2 separate regions of the Homo sapiens genome follow, and region 2 is linked to region 1. The links are contacts of gene promoters, found by promoter capture Hi-C in human tissues and cell types (Jung and others, 2019). All regions are on one chromosome and are shown on one strand. Each heading gives the region's core, a stretch centred on a gene start or on the middle of the fragment in contact. The rest is flanking DNA. Distances are from core to core; before and after follow the strand shown. Region 1 holds the start of B4GALT2 (beta-1,4-galactosyltransferase 2). Region 2 overlaps PTPRF (protein tyrosine phosphatase receptor type F).

Region 1 (7,046 bases), core at 2,775-5,274:
CCTGGTGCTCCCAGATCCCTCTCTCCACTGCAGACCTCCCTTCTGGGTCCAGACTCATTTGTCTAACTGCCTGCTAAACATGTACTTCCCACAGGCGCTCAAACTCATCACACGCAAGAAAGGATTCAGAGTCACACTCCCCCAGAGCTGGCCCAGCTCCTGTGTCCCCATCTCACTCAGACACAGCCATCCCCACAGCCAACAGCCAAGGCGGAAACCCTTGCGCTGTCCTGACGTCGCTCTTTTCTCACTCTCCACTACTTGCGTAACAACCCCACTTCTTCCCCGCGACTCCCGCCCCACACATCCGCAGGGTCACCGCCTCTTTCCTGGGCATCGTCCTCTCTTCCAAACGGGCCACGCTGTCTCTAATCTCCCCTCTCCATCCATGCTCCATATGCAACCAGAGTGACCTTTCTACAAAGCAAACACGCAAGTCACTCTCTCCTTACAACCTTACATGGTGCCCTGTCACTTTTGCGCTGGACTTACTGCCAGCATGCCTCCCAAGACATTTCTCAGTTTGACTTCCAACTCCTCCAGCCTCATCTTTGCTACCCAGTCCACATGCTGGACACCACACCTCAGCCAATAGTTCGTGAACACGAGGCCAGTTATCTTGCTGGCCCTGCATCCTCCAGGTCCCTCTGCCTAGAATGCTGGCTTCTGCAGCCCCTGATGCCTGCTCATCCCGCAAGACCCATCTCAGCAACTGCTTCCCAACCCCAGGGCTGGACTGGGGCCCTCTGTGCTCCCACGGCCCCCTGCTCCACCTCCACTTGTGTCCCATCATACGGGAGGGACCCATGTCCAAGTCTAGGAGGTCTCTGTGGTCGGCGGGGGCGGGGGGGCCTGCATCAGAGGTCCCTTCTGGGACCTAGTGGCCAGCCCTAGCCAGGTCCACCAAAGGCCTTAAGATGCTGAGCTGAGTGCCCTGGCCTCAGCTGTGGCTGGCACCTACCCCAAAGGGTTCTACAGGCTTCATCCTTCTTTCAGGGTCTAACTCCCTCTCCTCAGGGCCCTCAACATCTCCTCCTACAGCATACCCAAGGCCTGCACCACCATGGGGTGAGGCCTGCCAAGGGTAGAGAGTGGGGCTCAACCCCTTCTGAGACCATGCACACACCTGCCAGTGTGCATGCCAACATTCACATGCACACACTGTGCGTACACATTCCTGTGCACACTGACAAACACCGACTACCCACGCCCAGGTCCATCCACATATCCACACGGGCAGACAAGGACCCACAAACGCCCCCAACCCACATATATACACCAACAGGCACATGGACCCCCGCATGGGCACCTGGTTGATGACATAGACGCCGTAGCGCAGCCGCTGCCGCCTCAAGATGGGGTGTAGATAGTGGAGCCAGTAGCGCAGGTGGTGTTCCCGGTGTCTAAAGGGGATGATGACCGCCACCGTCTGGGCTGGGGTGCAGTCGGGCGGTGTGTATCGGCCGCCCATGAGCACGCCTGGGTTCTCCCTCTGCACCCGCTCCAGGGGCATGGGTGAGGTGAACTCGATCAGCAGTCTGCCCACTGCAGACAGGACAGTGTCAGGAATCAGGGCATTGGCCAGAATCCACAGATACCAGCCCCCACCCTCAGCCTGGGGGTGGGCTAGGGAACCCCAAGAATAGCCCTCTTACAACAGACCTGGACCCCTGGCACACCCCTGGGTCCAGATGCCATTTCTCTAGTCAAACCAATAAAACCCTGTTTCCCCACAGGCAGGCCCTACCCTCCAGGCTCACCAAGACCAGGTGGCGAGTCAGGACAGGGTGGCAGCGTGGGAGCCGTGGGACCGGGCAGGGCACTGGGGACCTCAGGGAGCCCGGAGCTAGAGGCGGTGGCGTTGGGCCGGGAGCAGTTGCTGCTGCTGCTGCTGCTGCTAGCAGCTGGGTGGAGGGCATGGGCAGGGCCTCGGGCACTGAAGCGGCTGAAGAAGGCCAGGTGCTGGGCGTAGACGTCAAAGTAGAGGATGACGGCCACGAGGAAGTGCAGCAGGCAGAGAAGGAGCACAGCCTTGCAGACGCGCTCCAGCGTCCCCCCCAGCAGTCTGCTCATCCCGCAGGCGGCCACTGGCCCGCCCAGTGGGCCCGGGCATCCGGCTGCTGGCCTGAGCAGGGTGGGAGGGAAACAGATCCAGCAGGTCAGGGCAGGACAGGCAAGGCTGCCCACCTACCTCCCACTCAGCTGCTCACACTCGTGGGCCACACCTCACACTGACCTGCTCATACCCTTTCACACTCACAGACTCAAGAATTTACCTCCAAACAGACACCCAGGCACAGTTCCCGGCAACTCAGTACTCACATCCTCAAGCACACCCCACTACTAAGCCACATACATTTACCTTCCTCCACCTCACTGACACACACACTCAGGCACTCACCCTTATTGCACAACTCTACACACACACTCACGCATTCCCAGGAACACAGACACGTGAACTCTAACCACACTGGTTTGTACCTAAGCATGGAGACATGTTTACCTATAGACCCCCATGTGCCCCTGTGCCCCTGAGAACAGACACCTCACATGGCAGCATCCTTAACCCAGAACTCATGGCTTGGGGAAGAGGGAAGAGACGGAATACTGTGCACCTACCATGCAGGAGCACTTTATACTCATGACTTCATTTAGTCCTTCCAGGAGCCATGGTGGGAAGTGGTTTGGTCATTCAGATCCCAGCGACAAGCAGGCCAGGCCAACTGGGACCAGGCTGGGAAGTTGCCCTCAGCATCCGGGGGGCCCAAATACAGACTGGATGTTTACAGAATCCCTTCCCACTGGAGCAAAACGTCAAAATACGGGGCAAGGCAGGGGACACCCCTCACTTAAGACCTCAAAGCCAGCCCCTTGGGACTGGGACCAAGACTCTGGGTCCTGCCCAGCACAGCTGGTTCTGATTCCCGGAACGGGATGCTTGGGCCTGGAGATGGGCACAGCACTGGGCATGGCAGGAAGGGGGTCTTGCCTGGGCGATGGCTCCAGCTGTGGTTCCAAGAGAGCGGCAGCCACTTCTGGCAGTGCTTCAGGGAGCAGGGTGAGTCTCACAGGCACACAGAATCACAGGGACACCCTGGTCCCAGCTGGTCACCCACACTCAGACACACAGAGAACTACAGTCACAGACACACCCGGGTGACAGTAACACACTAAGTCCCACACTCACAAACAAGGCCACTGCTCCTGGACTTCCACAGCCATACATCCAGACTCTCAGACAGCTCACACCCAGACCCACGTGCAGACATTCCCACCCTCCCTCCGGCGCAGGGGTTCTGGGTCAGGCTGGCGGCCAGGCTGAGGGGTGCGTTTGGGCGGGGCTGGCAGGCTGAACACGTGGCACCCGCGGACGGGCAGGCCGCACAGACCGGGTGGGTGTGGAGCCTGGGGGCAGGGGGAGTGGGTGGAGGGCAGCGGATGAGGCAAAGGCCAAGGGGAAACGTGTATGGAACGCCTCCCCGCGCCACGAGGCCGGGGCGAGCGAGGACAATGAGGGAGGCCGGCTGGACGCGGGCGGAGAAGCCCAGGAGGGGCGCCGGAGTGGGGGCGGGGTGGGGGCAGCCAGGCCGGGGTCTGGCCGCCGGCGCCTCTCTCACCGGCTCCTGGGTTGGGATCTCGGGGCCGCGCTCGGGGTGCCCCTCGCGGGGCTGGGTCTGGAATCTCGGGGCCCTGGGTGGGGGCCGCGCGCGCCCTCCTCTCACCCGGCGCTCGGGGCTCAGCAGGGGACGCCGCTCCGACTTGGGCAGGGCTCCCGGCTCCGGCGGCTGCGGACGGTTCCGTCCCCCATGGCCCGGCCCCGCCGCCTCCCGCCGCCCGGTCAGCGGCCACCGCGGCCCCCGGGTCGCCTCCCGCCGCCGCCGCCGCCGCCGCCGCCGCGGGCCATGGAGCCGAGCCGCCCCGGGGGGCAGGGCGGGGCCGGGCGGCCGGGCAGACCCACGGACCGGCGGACCCACGGACCACAGCGCCGCCGCCTCCCTCCCGCGCTACGGCGCCTCGGAGGGGCAGGCCCGGCCCGCGCGCCCGCGCGCGCGCCCCCGCGGCCCCCGCCTCCAGCACGCCCGCACCCGCCGCGCGCCGCTGCGAGCCCGCCCTGCCGGCGGCCGAACCCGGGCACCCAGGAGGCACGGACCTGGGAGCGCGGGAGGAAATGGGTCAGGCTCGTCCAAAGGGTGGGCTTAGAGGTCGGACCGGCGAGCGGGTGCAGACCGTGGAGTCCCTTAGCGGGGAGTGGGGATTGCATTGGAGCGCGAACTCCCCAGGAAGGGGACCTGGAGGTTGGGCGGACTCAGGCTGCGGGGCTAGGGATTTGTCAACTCTTTAATTGGACCAAGATTCAAGGTCGGCCAGCAGAGAGGGGGCAGGACCCTTAAAGGCGTGGGCTGGAGGTGGCTGGGGCTTCTGGGGTAACAGGAAACAGGGTCAGGGAAGGAGAAAACGAGATTGGATGGGGTGGGAGGAGCTGCCCTGGGCCCTGGGAACAAGGATCAGAGTAGAGGTTTCTGGGAGGGGCTGCTGCTAGAAGGACAGGACCATCACTGGAGGCAGAGACCACTGCCTAGGCTCCAGGCCTCACAAGGACGGAGATGATGGTGCCCGACTGTACAACCAGGTAAGTAGATGCTGTCAGACAATTCGGGCATGGTGGTCAGTCAGAGCCCTGAGCAAACGGGCCTAGAAGGACTACAGGCACAAACACACCCAGGGGCCCCTATCTGCACACTCCCTCATCCCCAAACAAGTCTGTTTGGGGGTTAGAGTCCACCCAGCACCCGTGCCTCCCCACCTAGGAGCAAGCTCTGTGCAGATCAGAAGTGTGCAGTCAGAAAGCTGACAAGGGATTGGCATGAGGCTGAGGCGTACAGGCCTCTTTACCCTTCCTCTGTGAACGGTGACGCAAGAGGGCAACAGAAGCTGCACTGACCCAGACAAATACCAAGTTTATTTCACAAACACTAGGAAGATGGGTTGAGGGTGGAGGTGGGGGACACAGGTGCGCAGCTGCACAGAGTCAGCAGCAGCAGCCTGCTCCCCGCACTGAGGACTCGGCCTGGACTGCAGTGCCTCCAAATCAACACGCAGCAAGAGGGGAGTGCAGGGAGGGCCCTGAACACCAAGCCTCTGAAAGGCTAAGGGACACAGCTCCAGCTGTCCCAGGAAAACCAGCAATAAATAAAAGTGAGGCACGGCCCCACCCACACATATCATCTAGTCACCCATCTTCACTCTGGAGGTCTGCAAAAAAAGAACAGGAGAAATCAGGCAGGGACAGAGGAATAGGTAAGGCAGTGACAAATGATAGAAGATGACATCTAGCACATGGTTGGATGGACAGACCACAAGAGATATATGACTAACCAGGATGGACACACTGTGACAGACAAGGCAGACAGGGACAGACAACCACAGAGTTACGCTGTGGGACAGACGGAGAGAAGTGGCATATGGATAAAGCTAGTCACTAAGAATCAACTCAGTCAAGCACCCACAGTCACACTCAGACCCTCAGGCTGATCCTTAGTCACAAACTCACACACTGTCAGACAGACTAGACACACACAATTTAGACAATGGTGTCCTACTGACAGGCATGTGAGAGGGAGATACACATAGCTCCGAGAGACAGTCAAACACACCATGACAGACTGATATAGACAGACAAAATTCCATTCTAGTCTAGATCACAAATACAGACTGGAGACATGAAAAGCATGGCAGATAAAATGAGAGAACAGAAAGAGGGAGGACTAAGTGCTATACAGATACAACGCATTAGAAAGGGGGGAAAAAGAACAGGGCTGTTGTCAGTGACACCAAATCAGAGACAAAAATAGAGAGCCCCTGTAGGAGAAAACCAGAAGATGGAAATGAGGAGGTGGAAGCTGTTTGGGGGAATCTATAGTTATAGGTAGAGAAGGAGAGCACTTCAGCTTCTCCAGAAGGAGGGTAAGGCTAGGTTGGGGACAAGGACACAGAGGCTTCCCAAGGGGATTCATCACCTGAAGAATTGCGACGATGACCCCAAAGAGGCCAATGGCGCTGCCAAAGATCTCCACGATGAGAATCTTTACAAAGAGGCTGGGGTTCTGAGCATCGGCCAGGGCAGCCCCACTGCCCACGATGCCCACGCAGACTCCACAGAAGAGGTTAGACAGGCCTACGGTGAGGCCAGCCCCAAACATGGAGTAGCCTGGGAGGATAGAGAGGGGTGCAGTGAGGCTAAGCCAGGAATGGGGGAGATATGGGCTAATGGGGCCAATCACCATCCCCACTCTGCAAAGCAGAAAAAGTAGGTGAGAGAATATCAAAATGATGGCCCAAGCTGGGATGGGGGAGAGTGGAAGCAGGCATGAAGTCCCAGCATTTTGCATTCATACGCCCATCCACCCACCTGCATGGTAGTTCCGATGGCCGATGGCCTTGGGGTCTGTGGCACTGAAAGGCTGAGGGAAGAAGAAAAGTAATCAGAAACCATCCTGATGCACCCCATCCAATCTCTAAGGAATGTGTAGAACACACTGGAATGGATTCCCGCCACCACCCTGGCCTTCCATACCTCAGCCATGTTGCTAATGACAATTGCCATGATGATGCCGTAGATGGCCACAGCCTCACAGAAGATGATGCTGGTAGTGGTAGAGATTAGGGGTAAGGAGTGGAAAGGAGAAAGAAATGAGAAAGAAACCGTCCTTCCTGCCCAGTAAGTCCCCAGCAATCTTTCCCCTATAACATCCCATCCCACAAGGTGGCTTGTCAGAAACAGTATGTCAGATCAAACACACAGGCAGCGCCAACACAGCTGGTTCTGACAAAAGTCCAAGGACCCTGACACTTACCTGACCAGGTTCTTGGTCTTGATCCTGGGGGCCTTCACTCCTCCACCAATGATGGAGGAGCCGGTAATATAGATGCCCCTGGTGGAAGGATAAAAAACTGATGAGCAGAGCCCAAGCTGTCACTGCCCTCAGCATGCCTAAGACCCCAGTGACACCACCTGCCATGACTCAGCCCCTGCCCCCAGTCCCACC
Region 2 (7,046 bases), core at 3,180-5,679, 390 kb after region 1:
CCCAGGGAGGAGGGAGCCGAGGAAGTCAGGTCCTAACCTCACACCCTTATCCTACATCCCAACTGACCACACATCTATGGAATACGGCACCTTGATCCTCCCAAGAGCCCCCAGCCTCACAGCCGAGGGAGGGGGAAAGGCACCGCCACAACCTCAGCCTCCCCTTCTCTGCTGTTGGCTGCCCAGCCGGCATGCCCCCACCTACCTCCCTGCTGCGTCTTGACCTGGATGGTGGGGCTGGGAGGGCCATCGCCCACGGCGGTGAAGGCAAGCACGCGCAGGCTGTAGGTGATGCCAGGCAGCAGGCTGCCCACGGTCGTGAGGAGCCCCGCGTCGGTGTTGTGCTTGTGCCAGGCGTTCGGGGGGCGGCGGGAGTCCGGAGTATAGTAGACGCGGTATCCCCGCACCAGGCCGTTGGGCTCCTCGGGAGGCTCCCACTGCACCAGCATGGTGCTGGCGCTCAGCATGCGTGCCTGCACGCGGCGCGGTGGGCTGGAGGGCGCCTGTTCTCCCGTGCGTGCCCGCACTGCCTCGCTGGGCGGCCCTCGCCCGATGCTGTTCACCGCCAGCACGCGGAAGGCATATTCCGAGAAAGGGCTGAGGCCGCCAATGCTGTAGCGGGTGGTGGCCACACCATCCACCTCCTGAAAGGGGCCCTCCGTGCCCGCTGCGCGGTACTGGATGCCATAGTAGGTTACAGGCTCCGAGTTCCCAGAGTCCCAGGTGAGGGTGACACTGGTGGCAGTTGTCTCTGTCACCACAAGATCAATCGGAGGCTTTGGAAGAGCTGGAGACAAAGTGGAAGGCTCAAAGCTGCCCGAGGTCAAGATCCTTAGGAACCAACCCTAGACTTGGGGATTATCCAGGATATCTGGTGGGGTCACCTGAGTGTGGCTGATACCCACAGCCTACCTTGAAAAATGGCTGGAAAAGCTTATGGTGACCTCTGAAGGCACAAGTGAGGGACAGTGGCCAGGCCTGTCAGTGCCCCACCCAGGGCCTTGGGTCATTTAGTATGTACACATATCAACTGTGGGATTCACTGGACCCTCCCATCAGCACACCAGACTCATCTAACAAACAGACCTGGAGGTGATGTGACCCTTGCAGTCCCATGTAGATGAAAGACACCCAGACTGGGTAGCAGCTATGTGCCTCTGCAGGTCACCTGAGCCCACCTGGTGGAAAGTATGTGTAATAGGCAGGGGAAGGGGAGATATTTCCTTAGGGACTGGCCCGGATAGAAAGAGTGATGGGGCTGCTGGCCCCACAGACCCTGCAGCTTGGCTCAAATTGAAGTGGAAAGGTCCTGAGTCCACAGTCATTCAACAAATAATTAACAAGCACCCACTCAATGCCAGACATTGTGCTGGGGCTACAATGCCACACAGTCACATCCCTGCTCTCATGGAGTTTACACCTCAGTACAAGAGAGAATCAATAAACAAGTCGATCGTACTCATGATTCTGCCATGTGCAAGGACAGCAGGAATCAGGGTGCTGAGGTGGAGTAAGATCCAGGGAATCTCCTTGGATGCGGTGATGAGGGAAGGAAAGCATCACCAAGCTGAGGCCTGGAAGGGTACATGGAGCCAGTGACAGAAGGGGCCAGGCAAGGAGCACGGCAAACGGAAAGCAGCATGTGTCTGGACAGCTGGCGCGTGACAGGGTGGGAAGCCAGTGGCCCTGGGAGACCACAGTGAGGATCCTGATCTGTATCCTAAAACAACGGGAAGCCACTGGAAGGTGTTTCTCCCTTTCCTAAAAGGGAGTCACTTGATCCTGAATTACATTTTTTAAAGATCACTCAAGCTGCAAAACAGATAATGGATCAGAGGCTGTTGAGAATTGCAGCGGGGAGACCAGGAAGGAATCTGGTTTTTTTTTTTTTCATAGGGTCTCGCTCTGTCACTCAGGCTGGAGTGCAGTGGTGTGATCATGGCTCACTGCGTCACTGTAGCCTCACCCTCCTGGGCTCAAGTGATCCTCCTGTCTCAGCCCTCCCAAGTAGCTGGGCCACAGGTGTGTGCCACCATGCCCAGTTTTTTTTTTTTTTTTTTTTTCGTAGAGATGGGGGTCTCACTACGTTAACTGGGCTGGTCTCAAACTCCTGAGCTCAAGCAATCCTTCCAACTTGGCCTCCCAAAGCGCTAGGCTTACAGGAATGAGCCACCGTGCCTGGCCAGAATCGGTTACATATATGTGACATATGTGTAATACATGTGTGCCTGTCCCCAGGTATCAGGGCAGAGAGAACACACTTTCCCCTACTATTTTACCACACCCTTCTTGCTGGGAGGCTATTAAACCTGAAGGTCTGGTACTATGTAGTGGTGAGGGTGAGATATGGATTCAGACCACACTGGGTTTAAGTCCCTGCTCTGTCATTTATTTTTATGTGACCCTGGGGCAAGTGATACACCCTCTCTGTGCCTCGGTTCCCTCGTTTCAAAAATGGAAATAATAAGAGCACCTATCTCCCAGGGTAAAACAGAAAAAAACAAAATCAACTGTGCTTGCTAGCATGATGTCTCCCACCAAGAAACTCAATATGCCTTAACTATTATCATTAAGCCGGCTAATAACAGAAATCCCTCCCTCCCTCTAAGGGCTGGAGGACCCCAGGGCAGGGACACCCAGGAAAGGGCAAGAATCCCTCAGCCATGCCTGTGCCCATGGCAGCCAGCTCACATTCGCCCACCACCAGGACCTCCCAGATGACAGGGAGGGCACTGGTTACAGCACCTGCCACACTCACCTTTCACTGTGACCTGGGCTGTGGCCTCGATCATGCCCAGCGAGGAGATGGCCACACAGGTGTAGTTGGCAGAGCGTACGACATTGCTGAGCTCCAGGACGTTGCGGCCAACTGGCATCTCATCCTCCTTGGTGAGCTCCTCGGCCCCCATCATCCACTTCACGTAGGGCATGGGTGCACCCACTGCCACGCATGTCAGGTTCACGCTGCCGCCTGGCATCACCTCCTGGCTGCTGGGAGGGATGGAGAAACGAGGAGCCACGCGGCGCACTGCAGGAGGAGGGAGAGAGGCACTCACAGGCCGGGCAGGACACACGACTGCATGGAAGGGCAGGGGCCCCTCATTCAGGAAGCCCCTCTGGTCAGAGCCAAACCCATGCTCAGAGACAGGAGGGGTGGCACCGCCAGACCCCAGCTCATCATCCACTCCCACCCCACCCACTTCCAGCCTAGAAGTGGCCCCCACACTCAGGGACTGTCTGGAGCACGATGACTTACTCAATGAGAGATCTTGCAACCAAGCTCCCATTTTATAGCCTAGGAAACTGAGGCCTGTCAGGAAGGTCCTGTCTGCCCAGGGTCACACAGGGACTCAGTACAAGGTCCAGGCCTGGTCAGGACCACAACCCAGGGTGTTCTCCAGGGCCTATCTCTGCCTGCTCCTGGCTGGAGCACCAAGGAGAGAAAGCAGGCCCTAGGGTGGAGGGTCCTCAGAGCATGGCTGGGCAGAGCAGAAGGCCAGTCCAGAGGGACACAGCCACCTGCCGTGGAGTCACTGCCTCCACCTCCAGGCCATGGCCTGAGGGGAAGAAATAAGGCAAGCAGCAGGGCCGCCTGCCAGGGTCTCAGCCATGCTCAGGGCACAACCTGGGAACCCAAGCAAAAGGGCTGCCCTCAGGAGGACTGGGGAGGGGCAGGGGTCAGGGCAGGCCAGGGACATGGTCTGCGGGCAGGATGGGCATGACGATGGCAGTAACATGATGAGGGCGCCGAACAGACGGCTTCCTGCGCCAACAAACAAGGGTCTCAAGGGGAGGGGTGGCTGTGGCTGTGCCTGGCCACGACCTCCAGCCTTGGACTCCCCTGACCAGAAGCTGTTCTGAGCTTCTCAGTCCAGGGTACAGCCTAGAACCACCCGCCCCCGAAGTTGGAAGCTTGACACAGACACAGGAGCATGCAGAGGGAAGGGAGGTGATGAAACCCAGCCGTGGGCAGGCATGTCTGGCATGCAGATGGGCCATGCAGCTGGTGAGCAGAGGCCAGGGTGTGTCCTACACGGGCACTCTCACACGCAGGGCCAAAGGCGGCAGGCAGCAGGCTAGTCAGTACCCAAGAGCACTGCTGAGAGCACTGGTCTCTGAGGACCCTCGCTGGGGGGCCCAGGCATGCAAAGACCCCACAGCACCACATAAGGAGCATCTCCACTATAAGCACCAGACTATGCTGCTCACACAGCCCCAAATCACAGAACTAGAGCTAGAAGCAACTTCAGAGACCTCCCGGTCCAACGTCTGACCTCACCATACAGGGGTCAAAACTTAGACCCAGAGATCAGACATTCAGCAAGTCACCAGGTCCTGTCAACAGCGTGGCATAACATATCTTCCAAATCCATGTATTTCTCTCCATACACACAGGCAACTGCCACCACCAAAGTCCAAGCCATCATCATCCTTCCCTGAGTTGCTGCAATGTGTTCTGCGTCAGTCCTCCTGCCTTGTTGTCCACTGCCCCAATTCCTGCTCACGGGCCCTCCACAAACAGCTGGCACAAATCTGATGCCACTCCCTGTTTAACAAGCTCCTGCATGGCTCCCAGTGACTCCTCTGCCCAGCCCAAGAGACCCTACCTAATTTAGCACTTGCTTCAACTCCTTCCACAGCCTGCCTTACTCTGGTGCTCCAGACAGAACCCAAACCCTGGCAGCCCCAGAGACCAGGCCTGACAGGTGCTGGTGGGCTGGATCTGTGTCCCCAGGTTCACCTAGGGCATGAGAGTATCTTGTAGACATTCAGGGTTCTGCTTTCTCCTCAAATCAATGAGCATTCCCATTGTCTTTAAGGAAACCACTTCTACCTGCATTCTTCATACATGGGGTGTGTGACCCAGATCTGACTATGGAGAAACAGCCTTTGGACTTCCGCAGAAACTATTAGAAAAGCGACCTTCTCTCTCTACTGAGGTAGCTAAGCTTAGAGCAGCTGGGGATGGCTTCTCCCAACACACAGGAAAAGCTGCTTGAGAACAAAGATGTCGACAGAGGAGAGGAGAGCTCAGAAACAGACAGACAAATGACTGGCCAACCTGTTTAAGTACCTGGATCTAGCCCTGCCCAGCACCAAATCTACTACACTTTTCAGATTTGTAACACAGGACTTCCTTGTTTTGCTTACGCTGGTATAAGTGGGTTTCTGTCATCTGTTCTAGTGCCAGGAGTCTCTACCAATGATGACAGCATGTCACAGACACAGTTCTTGTGGCAGAACAGGTGGATCCCGGGGCATGGCTGGCAAGTGTCTCATGGCAACAAAGGACTCTCTGAGCACGCACCTCAAATGGTCCAAGGTGAGAGCAGGAGGCTCAGCCAGGACCACCACCCAGCCCAGCGGTGCATGCCCTCCCTCTGCTCTGGAGATGGGCCTCAGGGACAGGCACAGGCAGGCAAGTCTGTTTGCAGATCAGGTCCAGGCCTGCCACAGAAGCGGGGTGGGGGCAGCACAGAGGAGCAGCCTTAATGAACTAAATCTCTCCTGTCCTCTCGGCCAGTGGGTGCCCTGTCTCCTCCTCTTCATGGGAAGGGAAGCTATGCTTAAGCACCTACTAGGTGCAGGTTTCCATGCTGTAGATGCTATCACCTGCCAATTACAGTCAAGGGAACTGTTTTAAAACCAAGCCACATGACCAAGTTTATATACGTAGTAGGAGTAGGTCTGTGTGATGAAAAACTGTCACCCTTTCGAGCCCTAGCTGACAGGCCTGAAAAAAGACCCAGAAGGCTCTGGGGAGAAGCATCAGAATTAGCAGAGGCTGGCAGGAGAGGACGCTGCTCCAGCGGGCGTAAGGATGGGTTTAGACAGCCTGTGCCAGGGAGAGGTCATGATTGCAGGCTTGACCCCAGTCGGTGGTGGAATCATGGGGCCTAATCACGTCGTTGGATACCAGGACAAAGAGCCCCAGCAGAAGGAAGTAGGTCCTTGGCCAATAAACCTTGGGCACCAACCTAGAAACTTGACTGGACTTTACCCCCAAATTGTCCCTGGAGGACAGGGTCTTCAGGCCAAAAGGCGGACTTCATGGATCAGCCCTGGAGGTCAGGCCAACGCCCTGAGCCACGTCTTCTAAAGCCTCCAACTCCTGCGGCTGTCAGGAAATTGAGGCGCTTCACAGAAGAGTTGTGTTTATTTTTTCCCTCCTAGATGCAGGGGGCAGGGAGAGCTCTAGGGGCTAGGCATAAGTGTGAGAGGTCAACAGTGGCCTTTAGGGTCACCTGCAACACCAAGCAAGGGCCTCAGGTCCAGAGGCTCCTGGGCACACCACCTTCACTCTCACAAGGACACTGGGCTTCAGCCACGCAGAAACGTTACTGAGACTGAGACATTTTCCATGTGAGGGAGGTCAGGGTATGTCTACAGAGGAAGGGTGGGGGAAACAGGCAAGGGACAACCTCCTTGTATTCCAAGTGCCAACAGGGACCCGCATCCTAGACCTGCCCAGACAGCCACCCCCATGCCAACAGCTGGAGTGGCTGGCATCTCACTGCAGCAGCCCCAACCATCCTCCACCCACTGCTGCAGGCACAGGGCCTCCAAAAAGGAACAGGCCTCACCCTGGACAGTCTATTGACAGAAGCAACAGCAGGGAAAGAAAAACTGGAGCTGGGAAAAATGCACTCAGGGTCTAATCTTAGGCTCCAACAATGCCAGTATATTACCGTTCCCTGTGCATCCTTAGTGCTGACATTTTATAGACAATTTCCAAAACAGGGCCCTGCCATTTCTGGATTATATTTCAGCTGTAACTTTTAAGTCTAATTATTTGCGCTGACAACCCCCTATAATAGGGCGGTGCGGCGCCCAGAGGCATCAGCATTCAGTAGAGTGACAGCCTAATCGCAGGGGGAGGCAGCCCCGCAATCTGCATTCACTCAGAGAAATTTCTCTGATGAAAATAACACAACATTAAGGAGGGGATGAGGGGCAGGATCCACTGTATCAAGATAAAATAACTCTTTAATAAATAACCTTGTGGCTGCCGCAGAGCAGTAATTAAATGCCGGCAAACCCGGCAC

What was found. Contacts are between HindIII fragments. The study calls those that stand out against the background at their distance.
Region 2: a contact is called between a fragment that was not itself captured here and the fragment with the promoter of B4GALT2 in region 1, in 1 of the 25 tissues and cell types used here (H1 embryonic stem cells).

Annotation. Positions count from the first base shown.
Region 1 is chr1:43,976,188-43,983,233 of GRCh38, reverse strand. It overlaps B4GALT2 (beta-1,4-galactosyltransferase 2), which reads right to left and starts at 4,024. Exons shown (of 7, transcript NM_003780.5): 1 at 3,723-4,024; 2 at 1,761-2,125; 3 at 1,310-1,545. The coding sequence starts at 2,073. It overlaps ATP6V0B (ATPase H+ transporting V0 subunit b), which reads right to left. Exons shown (of 8, transcript NM_004047.5): 4 at 6,855-6,932; 5 at 6,575-6,644; 6 at 6,410-6,461; 7 at 6,018-6,208; 8 at 4,939-5,253. The coding sequence ends at 5,227. RefSeq lists enhancers at 594-1,183, 3,548-4,139, 4,140-4,730, 4,731-5,322 and silencers at 3,651-3,760, 4,031-4,130. The HindIII fragment of the contact is 8,245 bases long and covers 1-7,046 here.
Region 2 is chr1:43,584,713-43,591,758 of GRCh38, reverse strand. PTPRF (protein tyrosine phosphatase receptor type F) reads right to left here. Exons shown (of 34, transcript NM_002840.5): 8 at 2,759-3,028; 9 at 206-787. Among named protein-coding and RNA genes, the nearest start is that of PTPRF, 57 kb to the right of the region's middle. The HindIII fragment of the contact is 4,012 bases long and covers 2,424-6,435 here.